2 separate regions of the Homo sapiens genome follow, and region 2 is linked to region 1. Evidence: promoter capture Hi-C in human tissues and cell types (Jung and others, 2019). All regions are on one chromosome and are shown on one strand. Each heading gives the region's core, a stretch centred on a gene start or on the middle of the fragment in contact. The rest is flanking DNA. Distances are from core to core; before and after follow the strand shown.

What was found. The method cuts DNA at HindIII sites, captures the fragments that hold promoters and counts their contacts. A contact is called where the count stands out against the background at its distance.
Region 2: a contact is called between a fragment that was not itself captured here and the fragment with the promoter of CPPED1 in region 1, in 2 of the 25 tissues and cell types used here (hippocampus and thymus).

The regions. Positions count from the first base shown.
Region 1 is chr16:12,802,438-12,808,302 of GRCh38, reverse strand. CPPED1 (calcineurin like phosphoesterase domain containing 1) reads left to right here and starts at 4,416. Exons shown (of 4, transcript NM_018340.3): 1 at 4,416-4,596. The coding sequence starts at 4,527. RefSeq lists a silencer at 4,335-4,384 and an enhancer at 4,465-4,834. The HindIII fragment of the contact is 16,943 bases long and covers 1-5,865 here.
Region 2 is chr16:13,418,788-13,424,257 of GRCh38, reverse strand. It overlaps a transcript of SHISA9 not described here. Among named protein-coding and RNA genes, the nearest start is that of ERCC4, 500 kb to the left of the region's middle. The HindIII fragment of the contact is 5,103 bases long and covers 653-5,470 here.

The DNA of each region.
Region 1 (5,865 bases), core at 3,167-5,666:
GGCGGGCAGATCACCTGAGGTCAGGAGTTCAAGACCAGCCTGGCCAACACGGCAAAACCCCGTCTCTACTAAAAATACAAAAATTAGCTGGGCGTGGTGGCAGATGCCTGTAACCCCAGCTACCTAGGAGACTGAGGGAGGAGAATCGCTTGAACCTGGGAGGCAGAGGTTGCAGTGAGCAGAGATCATGCCACTGCACTCCAGCCTGGGCAACACAGCAAGACTCTGTCTCGGGGGAATAAAAAAAAAAAAAGGTTGCATTCTTTCCAGTTTCTGATTAGCTTTTCCAGAGGAGGCAGTCAGAAATGCATTTATCTCAGTGAGCAGAGGGATAACTTTGAGTTCTGTCTGTCCTTTGTCTACAAGGAAATTCCTTCTGAGCGACGTACGTAGCTTTTTTATCTTAGTAGGTTTTTTTTTTTTTTTTTTTGAGACAGTTTCCTTCTGTCACCCAGGCTGGAGCGCAGTGGCACAATCTCAGCTCACTGCAACCTCCGTCTTGTGGTTTGAAGCGATTCTCCTGCCTCAACCTCCCGAGTAGCTGGGATTATAGGCATGCACCACTACAACTGGCTAGTTTTTGTATTTTTAGTACAGATGGATGTCTCACCATGTTGGCCAGGCTGGTCTCAAACTCCTGACCTCAAGTGATCCTCCTGCCTCGGCCTCCCAAAGTGCTGGGATAACAGGTGTAAGCCACTGTACCCAGCCTTAGTAGCTGTCTGTTTCAGCAATAGAGTGGGAGGCAGGTTTGCCCTAAGCAGCTCCCAGCCTGACTTTTCCCCTTGGCTTAGTGATTTTGGGGTCTCAATATTTATTTTCCTTTCACAATTGCAGCTATTGCTATCATCCAATGCACTGGTACAGTTTTGAAGTTGCTCCAGATTGGCCTATAGATCTATTCCCAATTGCTGCTGAGGTTCAAAATATGGTTATCTTGTTGAGATATTCATAATCCATTTATTTATTAATGCAACAAACATTTAGTGTCTATGCCTCAGGCATCCTGCTTGGTGAGCTAGACAGTCAAGGTAACTGCCCTCAGCTGGGCGTGGCGGCTCATGCTTGTAATCCTAACACTTTGGGAGGCTGAGGCAGGAGGATCACTTGAGGCCAGGAGTTCAAGACCAGCCTGGATAACAGTGAGACACCATCTTTATAAATAATAATTTTTTTTTTGAGACAGAGTCTCACTTCGTCACTCAGGCTAGAGTGCAGTGGCACGATCTTGGCCCACTGCAACCTCCGCCTCCCAGGTTCAAGTGATTCTCCTGCCTTAGCCTCCCAAGTAGCTGGGATTACAGGCGTGCTCCCATGCCTACCTAATTTTTATATTTTCAGTACAGATGGGGTTTCACCATGTTGGCCAGACTGGTCTCGATCTCCTGACCTCAAATGATCTGCCTGCCTTGGCCTCCCAAAGTGCTGGGATTACAGGCGTGAGACACTGTGCCCGGCCAAAACAGTAAATTTTTTAAAAAGGTAACCAACTTAATAGACCTTATAGTTGAGTCGGGAAAGTCAACATTAAATAAATAATTACACCTGAAAACATATAATTATCAACTGTGCAAAGTGCAACAAGGGACAAGAACATAGTGCTCTAACAAAGAATGAGGGAGGCCTAGTTTAGATCAGCAAAGTGTGCAAATGGGTAGGGCATGGCCTCTCCACAGAAGTGTTATTTAACTGCAGGCCTTCATGTTCAAATGGGCTTTAGCTCAGCAGGGGAAGATACTTTTTTGTTTGTTTGTTCGTTTTTCAGACAGAGTCTTGCTCTTTCACCAGGCTGGAGTGCAGTGGCGCGATCTCAGCTCACTGCAACCTCCGCCTCCCGGGTTCAAGCAATTCTCCTGCCTCAGCCTCCCGAGTAGCTGGGATTAAAGGCACGCGCCACCACATCTGGCTAATTTTTGTATTTTTAGTAGAGACAGGGTTTTACCATGTTGGCCAGGATGGTCTTGATCTCTTGACCTCGTGATCCACCTGCCTTGGCCTCCCAAAATGCTGGGATTATAGGCATGAGCCACGGTGCCCAGCTGGGAAGAGGCATTTTAAGCAGAAAGAACTGCATATGCAGAGAGGGAAATTAATTTGCATGTTTAATGAACTGAATGGCCAGTATGACTGCAAAGCTAGTGAATAAGAGGCAGGGTCTGTTTCTATAATTCATTCTCTCCTTCACATTTCTTTTAATTAAAAAAAATTTTTTAATAGAGATGAGTTCTCACTATGTTGCTCAGGCTGGTCTTGAACTCCTGGGCTCAAGTAATCCTCCTGCCTAAACCTCCCAAAATGCTGGGATTACAAGCATGAGCCATTGTGCTCAGCTTCCCCTTCACATTTTTTTTTTTTAAAGACACAGTCTCACTCTGTCGCTCAGGCTGGAGTGCAGCGGCGGGATCTCGGCTCACTGCAACCTCTGCCTCTCGGGTTCAAGTGATTCTCCTGCCTTAGCATCCCGAGTAGCTGGGACTACAGGCGTGCACCACCACACCCAGCTAATTTTTGTATTTTTAGTTGAGATGAGGTTTCACCATGTTGGCGAGGGTGGTCCCGATCTGTAGACCTCATGATCCGCCACCTCCACCTCCCAAAGTGCTGGCATTACAGGCCTGAACCATTGCGCCCGGCCTCCTTCACATTTCTTGGGACTCCTCCTCTGGGCCAGGCCATGTTCAGGGAATAGGGTTATAGTGATTGATTAATAATAACAATGGCTAATATTCATTGAGTACCTACCATTTGTTATTAGAACTATTATTCTAAGCACTTTGATACATGAACTCATTTAAGCCTTTCTGCAACCCTATGACCTAGATGCTACTATTGTTTCCATTTCACAGATAGGGAAACTGAGGCATAGAGAAACTATGCAATTTTCAAGAGCATACAACCAGTAAGTGGGTAGAACCGGGATTAATCCAAGCCCACTGACTCCAGGACTCATAGGCATTTATACTCTTAACCACTATGATTCATGGGTGACTCTTGTCAAGGATTAGAGAACAGTAGTTATGGCCATATTAGCTACTCAAACAGTGCTTTGGATGTAGGCAGCTAGTTTAGAAAAGAATTTCCCAAATTTGTAAGATCATAAGAGCTCCCCTGCAGTGCTTGTTAAAAACAGATCATTTTCAGGCCAGGCACTGTGGCTCATGCCTGTAATCCTAGCACTCTAGGAGGCCCGGGTGGGTGGATTGCTTGAGCTCAGGAGTTCCAGATCAGCCTGGGCAACATAGTCAAACTCGTCTCTACTAAAAATACAAAGTATTAGCCAGGCATGGTGGCGCACGCCAATAGTGCCAGCCACTTAGGAGGCTGAGGTGGGAGAATCACCTGAGCCCAGGAGATCGAGACTGCAGAGATTGTGCCACTGCACTCCAGCCTAGGCAACCAGAGTGAGACCCTGTCTCAAAACAACAACAACAACAACAAAACACAGATCATTTTCATAGAGATTTGGATTCAATAGGTCCATTCTGGAATTTGTATTTTCAACACGTTTGACAAATGCTGGCTAAGTAGTTCACTACAATGGCTCTTGAGTTGAAGAGACACTAATTTGGTTACTCGCAGCTTTACTACCTCTCTAGATGTGTGTCACCTTGTGCAAGTTCGTTCATCTCTCTGAGCGTCAGTTTCCCCAAATGACGGATGCAGCTAATAACAGCACCACCTCCTAGGGCTGTAGTGGGGATTAAGTGAGCAGCGTGCAAAGTGCTTAGCGCCCTGCCTGGTGCATAGCAAGCAAAGATAATAACAGAAAGATGGTGGCAGCCACTGGGAAGTTCAGGCTGAGACAGTCTTCCAAGACGTCCACCTTTTCATCTTTTTTTTTTTTTTTTTTGTATTGGCAAGGTCTCTCGCCGTGTTGCCCAGGCTGGTCTCCAACACCTGGACTCAAGCGATCCTCCCTCCTTGGCCTCCCAAAGAGCTGGGGTTACAGGCGTAAGCCACCCCAGTGGCTCCTTCTGACTTTATGATAGAGTTGTCAGATAAAAAAAAATCAGGACGCTTCCATTCAAACCTGCAAAAAGAGAAAAATTTAAAAAAATTAGGACGCCCAGTTCAATTGGAATTTCAGATAATGAAAAAAAAATTTAACGTAAGTAGCTCCCAAATACTGCATAGGACATATTTATACCAAGTCAGTCATTCTTTAAAAAAAAAAATCTGAAATTCCAATTTAACCGGGAGTCCTGCATTTTTACTTGTTAAATCTAGTAACTCTGCCTTTAGGGAAGGACTGACCCCAAAGCCTTATCCCCGCCCACGCGTGCCCTAGACAGTCTCCACTCGCCAGGCGCGCAGGTCGATCCCAGAGGGGCCGCTGGCGCCTCCGCTCCGCCCAGGCAGCACTAGTGGCGCCCCGAGCCACCGGGCCCCTCCCCGTCCCGCCCCAGTCCCGCCCCGAGATCAAAGGGCGTCGCCCAAAGCGGGACAGGTCCAGCGGTTGTTCTGTGTGAAGTCGCGCGGCTTCCACCCACGCAGTGTTCTAAGTGAAGGCCAGAAACTCGCTCGCCATGTCGGCTGCAGAGGCGGGGGGTGTTTTCCACAGAGCCAGGGGCAGGACCCTGGCCGCGTTTCCCGCAGGTACTGCCCGCCCCTCACCCGGGGAGGGGACTCTGGGGCTGCGGAACCTTCCGCCGGGGGAACCTTTTGTTCAGGTGTGCGCTCCGCCAGTCGGACACCATCCGGGGCTGCACCGGGGCCTGGGAGCCGCCATAGCTGCATCAAAGCCTGCTCTTAGGGATTCCAGGGGCGCAGTTGAGAGGCGAGGCCGAGAGAGCGATCTGGTCTAGGAGCCTCCTTGGCCTTGACCTAACTTCCCCCAGAGAAGGGAAGTAAGAGGAGGGTAGCAAAGCATAGTTAATGACAGCTTGGACTCTGCAGCGAGACCTGGTTTCCAAGCTGTGCATTAGCATCTTGGCCTCAGCTTCCACATCTGTGAAACGGGAATACTTGTGGGTGTTACTGGATAAGCGTTCGGTGCATGTTAGAGGGTGTCGGTTTTATTAAGGTTGTTCACCGTTATGTATTCTGTACTCCATAATGACGTTTATTTAAGTCATTCACCGAAATGGTAACACTGCCCCATCAGAGCAGTAGAGAGGGAGGGCATTCGAGAGTCGTAGTGAAGTGCTTGGATTTTGGATTTAGATTATCTGCTTTGCCTTAAAAATGGGTTTGATAATACCTGCCTCATAGGGTTGTTGGAAGCGTAAACAGATCAAAAGTATTTTTGTAACCCGGTGTTGGACGCATGCTAGGTGCTAAGTAAAGAGGGAGGTTTGTTTCTGGTTTGTTGATTCCCCTCTGTGGCTTTTTGCTGCCTGCAGCCAGATCGCCTCCCAGGCTCTCACCAGCTTTATACCCCCAGGGAAGTCACCCTAAATGCCCTATATGATCAGGCTTGTGTCCACTTCCTTCAGGGTTGTCATTCTCTCTCTTGCCCAGTTCTGCAACAGGTTTTGTTGTTGCCCTTGTTTGAACTGCATTTAAAAGGGCCAAGGCCGTTCTTTCCCTGAGGGTCTTGGCGCTTGCTGTTTTCTGCTTCTTTAGCAGGGTTGGTGAGCCTGGCTCTCTCAACCGTCACACCTCATTTTAAAGTTCATTCACTTCCTCAGAGACTTTACCTGCTACCTTATCTAAAGTAGGTTTCTCCGGTAATTCTATGGTAAAACCTTATTTATTCATTTAAGGCGGAGTCTTGCTTTATTGCCCAGGCTGGAGTGCAGTGGCACGATCTTGGCTCACTGTAACCTCCGCCTCCCGGGTTCAAGCGATTCTCCTGCCTCAGCCTCTGGAGTAGCTGGAACTATAGGCACGCACCACCACGCCCGGCTAATTTTGTATTTTTAG
Region 2 (5,470 bases), core at 1,955-4,454, 620 kb before region 1:
TGCGGAGCACTGTAACAGATTACTTCCTAGTGAGATATTCAGGAGAGGACTGGATTTCCTGCAGTAATGCAGAATTGGCGTGAGTTAGGAAAATTCTAAGAGACCCTCCACAATTCCTGCCCTTCCTGTACATACTGTATAGAATCCCCTCTCTTGGGACTGTGTGGGGCCAGTGAATGGGATTGGATATGGCTTCTATGGTTTGGTTACAAATCAATTGCCTTCAAATTCATCAAAAGAGATATTACCTGGGTGGACTTGACCTAATCAGATGAGTCCTTAAAAGGGACAGAGCTCTTCCTGACATAAAGATAGTAGAAGAATGAAGAGAACTCAATGCGTCCTTGTTGGCTTGATAATGGGGTGATGGCAAAATGTGGCAAGGATGCAGGTGGCCTCTTGGAGCTGAGAGCAGCCTTTGGTTGACAGCTAGAAAGGAAACAGGACCTCAGTCCTACAGTTGCAAAGAACTGAATTCAACAGTCTGAATGAGTTTGGAAGTGGATTTATCTCCAGAGACTACAGGTTGGAACACAGCCTTACTGACACCTCTATTTTAGCCTTGTAAGACCTGAGCAGAGCACCCAGGGATGCCATGCACACAGACATATAGAACTGTGAGTGGGTGTTGTTATCAGCTCCAAAATGTACGATAATTTGTTATGCAGCAATAGAAAAATAATACAGGGGAAATGAGTTGTTTTATTTGGATATTAAAGAAAGATTAGTCCCCGAAAGCCAAAGAACTTAGGGATGATTTGGATAAACGATGGATCTCTCTCGGAGATACTGAAAACAGGTACAGAGGTTATAAAATGAAATTGAACTCTTGGTAACTTTGGGGGATAAGGTAGATTACAGGGGTTATTTCTTCTTCTTGCTTTTCTCTTCCTTTGAACTTATCTCCCTTTTGTAATAAAACAAAAATAAAGAAAACAATCTCCAGGGTAAATACAAGGCAGATGTCAGATGGCCAGAGGCTGGTGGTTTCTCTACAAAGTAAGTAGACAATTTCTGTACTGCCTGGAATATTGAAGCCTTCACTCTTCTCAGGCAAACATTCAGATATCTGACCTCTGGGGCTCCTGGATGCCACTGTTCAGAGAAGATGCCCAGATCAATACCATCTTCAAGTCACTGACTCATAAAACTTAAAGCTGATCAAGCTCCTTCCTCTCATTTTAAGGTAAGGCAGCTGGATTCTTAGAGACACTAAATTATTTGTGCAAGACCATGCACCTGATTAGTGGTAAAATTAGGATAGGAATCCAAGTTCTGTAACTTTGAGTCCAGGTCTCTTTCCTCCTTTCTCCAAAGATACAACAGGAACCTTTCATTTTAGAGTTAGGAGGAATCTTAGCTCTCACGTGCAATAAGACTGTCATCAGAAAGATGAAGAAATGGAGACACAAAGTTGGGGACTGAATCTCACTAAGATCACTCACAAGGTCATGAAAATTACAGGATCAACATTCAGATGTAACTTTTTAACCCAATTGTTTGTTGTTGTTGGTGGTGGTGGTTTTTGTTTGTTTGTTTCTTTGTTTTTGTTTGTTTGTTTTGAGACAGAGTCTCACTCTTTCACCCAGGCTGGAATGCAGTGGAGTGATCTCAGCTCACTGCAACCTCCGCCTCTCAGGTTCAAGCAATGCTCCTGCCTCAGCCTCCCAAGTAGCTAGGACTATAGGCATGCACCACCATGCCCAGCTAATTTTTGTATTTTTGGTAGAGATGGGGTTTCGCCATGTTGGCCGGGCTGGTCTTGAACACCTGACCTCAAGTGATCCACCTGCCTCACCCTCTGAAAGCACTGGGATTGCAGGCATGAGCCACCACGCCCAGCCTAACCCAATTGTCTTATATCAGTCAGTGCCAATGTAGTTTTCTCCAGGCTATGTGAATGTTGATGGCATTAATAAATAGCTTTTGAATGTTGAAGGTATTCAAAAATAACTTTTTAAAAAAAAATCCTGACACTTGTAGCAAGGACAGGAACATATTTGCTACTTTGTGCTTTAGCCTGGAAGCCTGTTACATCCTTGGAGCCTCACTGAACCTCTGTGCTGGCTCCATGGGGAGCATTTGCCATCAGACATCAGCCCGTATTTTACGAGTGGGTTGGTCCTTGGAGGTGACCTGTGTTTTTGAGAGTGCTCTCTCCTGTGGCCACAGAGGCAAGAAAAGCTGACCAGCTCCACTTGTGTAGTGATTGGGTATATGCATTCAAAGCTGGTTCTGCAAAACCAACCATTTATATTAGAGGATGCAGGCAGAAAAGAGCCCCACAAAGGGCTTAGATCACCACATGGGCATTTCCTGTGCTCGTCACCAGGGAGTTAGCATCTCCTCCACATCCTGCTGATCAGACATTTCTTTTAGTGTGGCTGGAAGCATTTACCCCAACCTGGGATTCGTTTGGGAAAATACGGCACATAAGAGGTTTTATGAGATTTCATGTGAGAGTTGAAGACTAGAATGGCCTGGAAGAAGGGGAAGAGGACTAATATTTGTTGATACTTACTGTGTGTCAAATATTGTATTGGGTTCTTTTATGTACAACAAAATGACATAAATTAAAATTTACTGAGTGTTTACTTTGTTCTATTGGATGAAGTTTGCATCTTAGTTAATTAGAGACTGATATGGTTTGGCTCTGTGTCTCTACGTAAATATCATTTTGAATTGTAGCTCCCGTAATTCCCACATGTTGTGGGAAGGATCCAGTGGGACATAATTTGAATCATGGGGGTGGTTTCCCCCATACTGTTCTCGTGGTAGTGAATAAGTCTCACGAGATCTGATGGTTTTATCAGGGGTTTCCGCTTTTGCATTTTCCTCATTTTCTCTTGCCACAGCCATGTAAGAAGTGCCTTTCACCTCCTGCCATGATTCTGAGGACTCCTCAGCCATGTGGAAATGTAAGTCCAATTACACCTCTTTTTCTTCCTAGTCTTGGGTATGTCTTTATCAGCAGTATGAAAACGGATTAATACAGAGCCCAAGGATGGTATATTGGAATTATATGGAATGCAGAAAGTACTTGTCAGTAATAACACAGAGAAGAAATGGCACTGTCTCTAGGACATCTGAATGCAGCAGATCCTCTCTTACCTGGCCTGAGGGATGAAGATTTTCAGCCAACTGCATATTTTTATTGAAGGGAAAGGGCCAAGGATCACTTCAAATGCTCCCTGGGTTTGCATTAATTGGTGCCAGTTTAATTAGTATTGAAAATGATGTGGAAATGGACTTTTTCCTTGCATGGTATGTGTGAAGAGTCCAAGTTGGATCACTGCTTTCCCCTGAAGCAAAATCTAGCTGTTTCGCTGGGAGCAGCTGTAATACCATCATCTCTTGAGTGGAATCAATGTCTACGTGAGAGGATTTCATAGTGTTTGTCATCTGCAGAATCTCAGCTGTTCCTAAACAAGGCTGATTATTAAATGCCCTGACACTGCAGAAGAAATGTGCACATGCTGAGGGTCAGGGGCATTTGTGCGTTTCTGGGGATGTTGGTGGGCTCCCAGTCAGCCCTCCAATTCCATCTTGGGTTGAAGGGTTGTCTCATTCTGGCTTCATTAATCAGGCTGCCTCAGCCATAATGAATTTTTCTGTTTCTTTAAAGAAAGACACCCTCCCTTCTGTGCTTTGAAATGGGTGTTTCTTCTATATGGAACATTACTCTTGCCTTTCCTTACCCCCCATCCCCCACTTTTATAACCTGTCTGTGCTAAGAACAAGCTTCTTCCAATCTCAGACTGAACATCCCTTCCTCAGGAAAGACATTTCTGGTTTCTTCATCTCCCAAGACTGGGTTAGATCCTGTGATAGCTTCCATCCCCATCTCCAGGCTTTTTACTCCTAGGCTGGAAGCTTTCTGTGAGGGGAGGATCATATTTATCTGTTCAATATTAGATTTCACTTGACTGGCACAGCACCAAGCACACAATCAGCCTACAGTAAACGCCTGCTGAGCAAAAAACCTTTTTTTTTTTTTTTTTTTTTTTTTTTTGAAACAGATTCTCACTCTGTTGCCCAGGCTGGAGTGCAGTGGTGCGATCTCCGCTCAGGGCAACCTCCCCGCTCCAGATTCAAGCAATTCTTCTGCCTCAGCATCCAGAGTAGCTGGGATTACAGGTGCCCACCACCACACCTGGCTAATTTCTGTATTTTTAGTAGAGACGGGGTTTCGCCATGTTGGCCAGCCTGGTCTTGAACTACTGACTTCAGGTGATCTGCCTGCCTTGGCCTCCCAAAGTGCTGGGATTATAGCCATGAGCCACTGTGCCCAGCTTGAGCAAACAACTTTTATCCCATGTTCTTATTCACAGTGATTAACGCAGTGTAGATTTCACTAAACATTGATGGAATAAATTGAACATCTAGAGTGGAGGTCAGCAAGCTATATGGTTCATGGGCCAAATCCAGCCTGCCACCTGGCTTTGTAAATAAAGTTTTATTGGAACACAGTTATAGCCATGCTTATTTGTTTATGCCTTGTTTATGATTGCTCCTGGCTACAACAACAGAGTTGAGTAGTTGCTATAAAAATTGTGTGACCCACAATGTCAAAAAGTACTTACTATCTGGCCAACCCTGGTCTTCAAGTTCAGGAAGAGACGTAAGTAAACAGCCACTCTAAATTACCTCCTCTACTTTTGATTTTTTAATCCTCTCTTATAACCACATCTAGACTTCCCACATGTCTTCAAACTCCAGAGTTCTAGACATCACACGCTAACAAAGGCTAAGGTTTAAAAACTAAAAATGCTTAGGAAAAAATAGTTGTTCTTATGAGTTGTTTTATTTAGATATTAAAGGAAAGATTAGTCCCACAAAGCCAAAAGTCTTTCAAAAATATTTCTAGTTTTGAGATTTCATTGTCTGCCTAACTTAATTGCACCACCTTCCAAAGCACAGATCAAATTTCCAGCTTCCAGGAGGCCCGCTGTTCTTTCCATCTCTCAGAATGTCTTCTTTCTTGGAGCTTATCCCTATAAAACTTAATGTTTGAGTCATTTATTCAGGGCTCCCTGGTGACAGCTGTTACATTGTCTTACGCCATTATTTAATGTATATTAATTTTATTTTTCCAATTAGATACTAAACCCTGGAGGGTGAGGTCATTAAATACAAAGCTTGAACTAAAAGTTTTGTAAAGTGTAATTTGCATCTTCACAAACCAGTTCATACACGTGGGTTTATATAAGATTAAATATCCACATTTTACTAAAGTTTTCTTCAACTACTTACATAGAACCTCCAGCCCCTTTAGGATGTCCCCACTTTATTTCTGGGAATGCCCCAAGGTTGTTTCACCTGTGCCTCATTAATCAGGCTATTAGCTGTGGTCACTAAGGAAGGTGCAATGTGCTGTTCTTGTCCTGCACTGCTAGCCCGTGTTGTTTATTCTGCCTGAGCTGGCTGAGGGTATCAGTGCAATCACACCAGCATGCTATCTTCTGTGTTC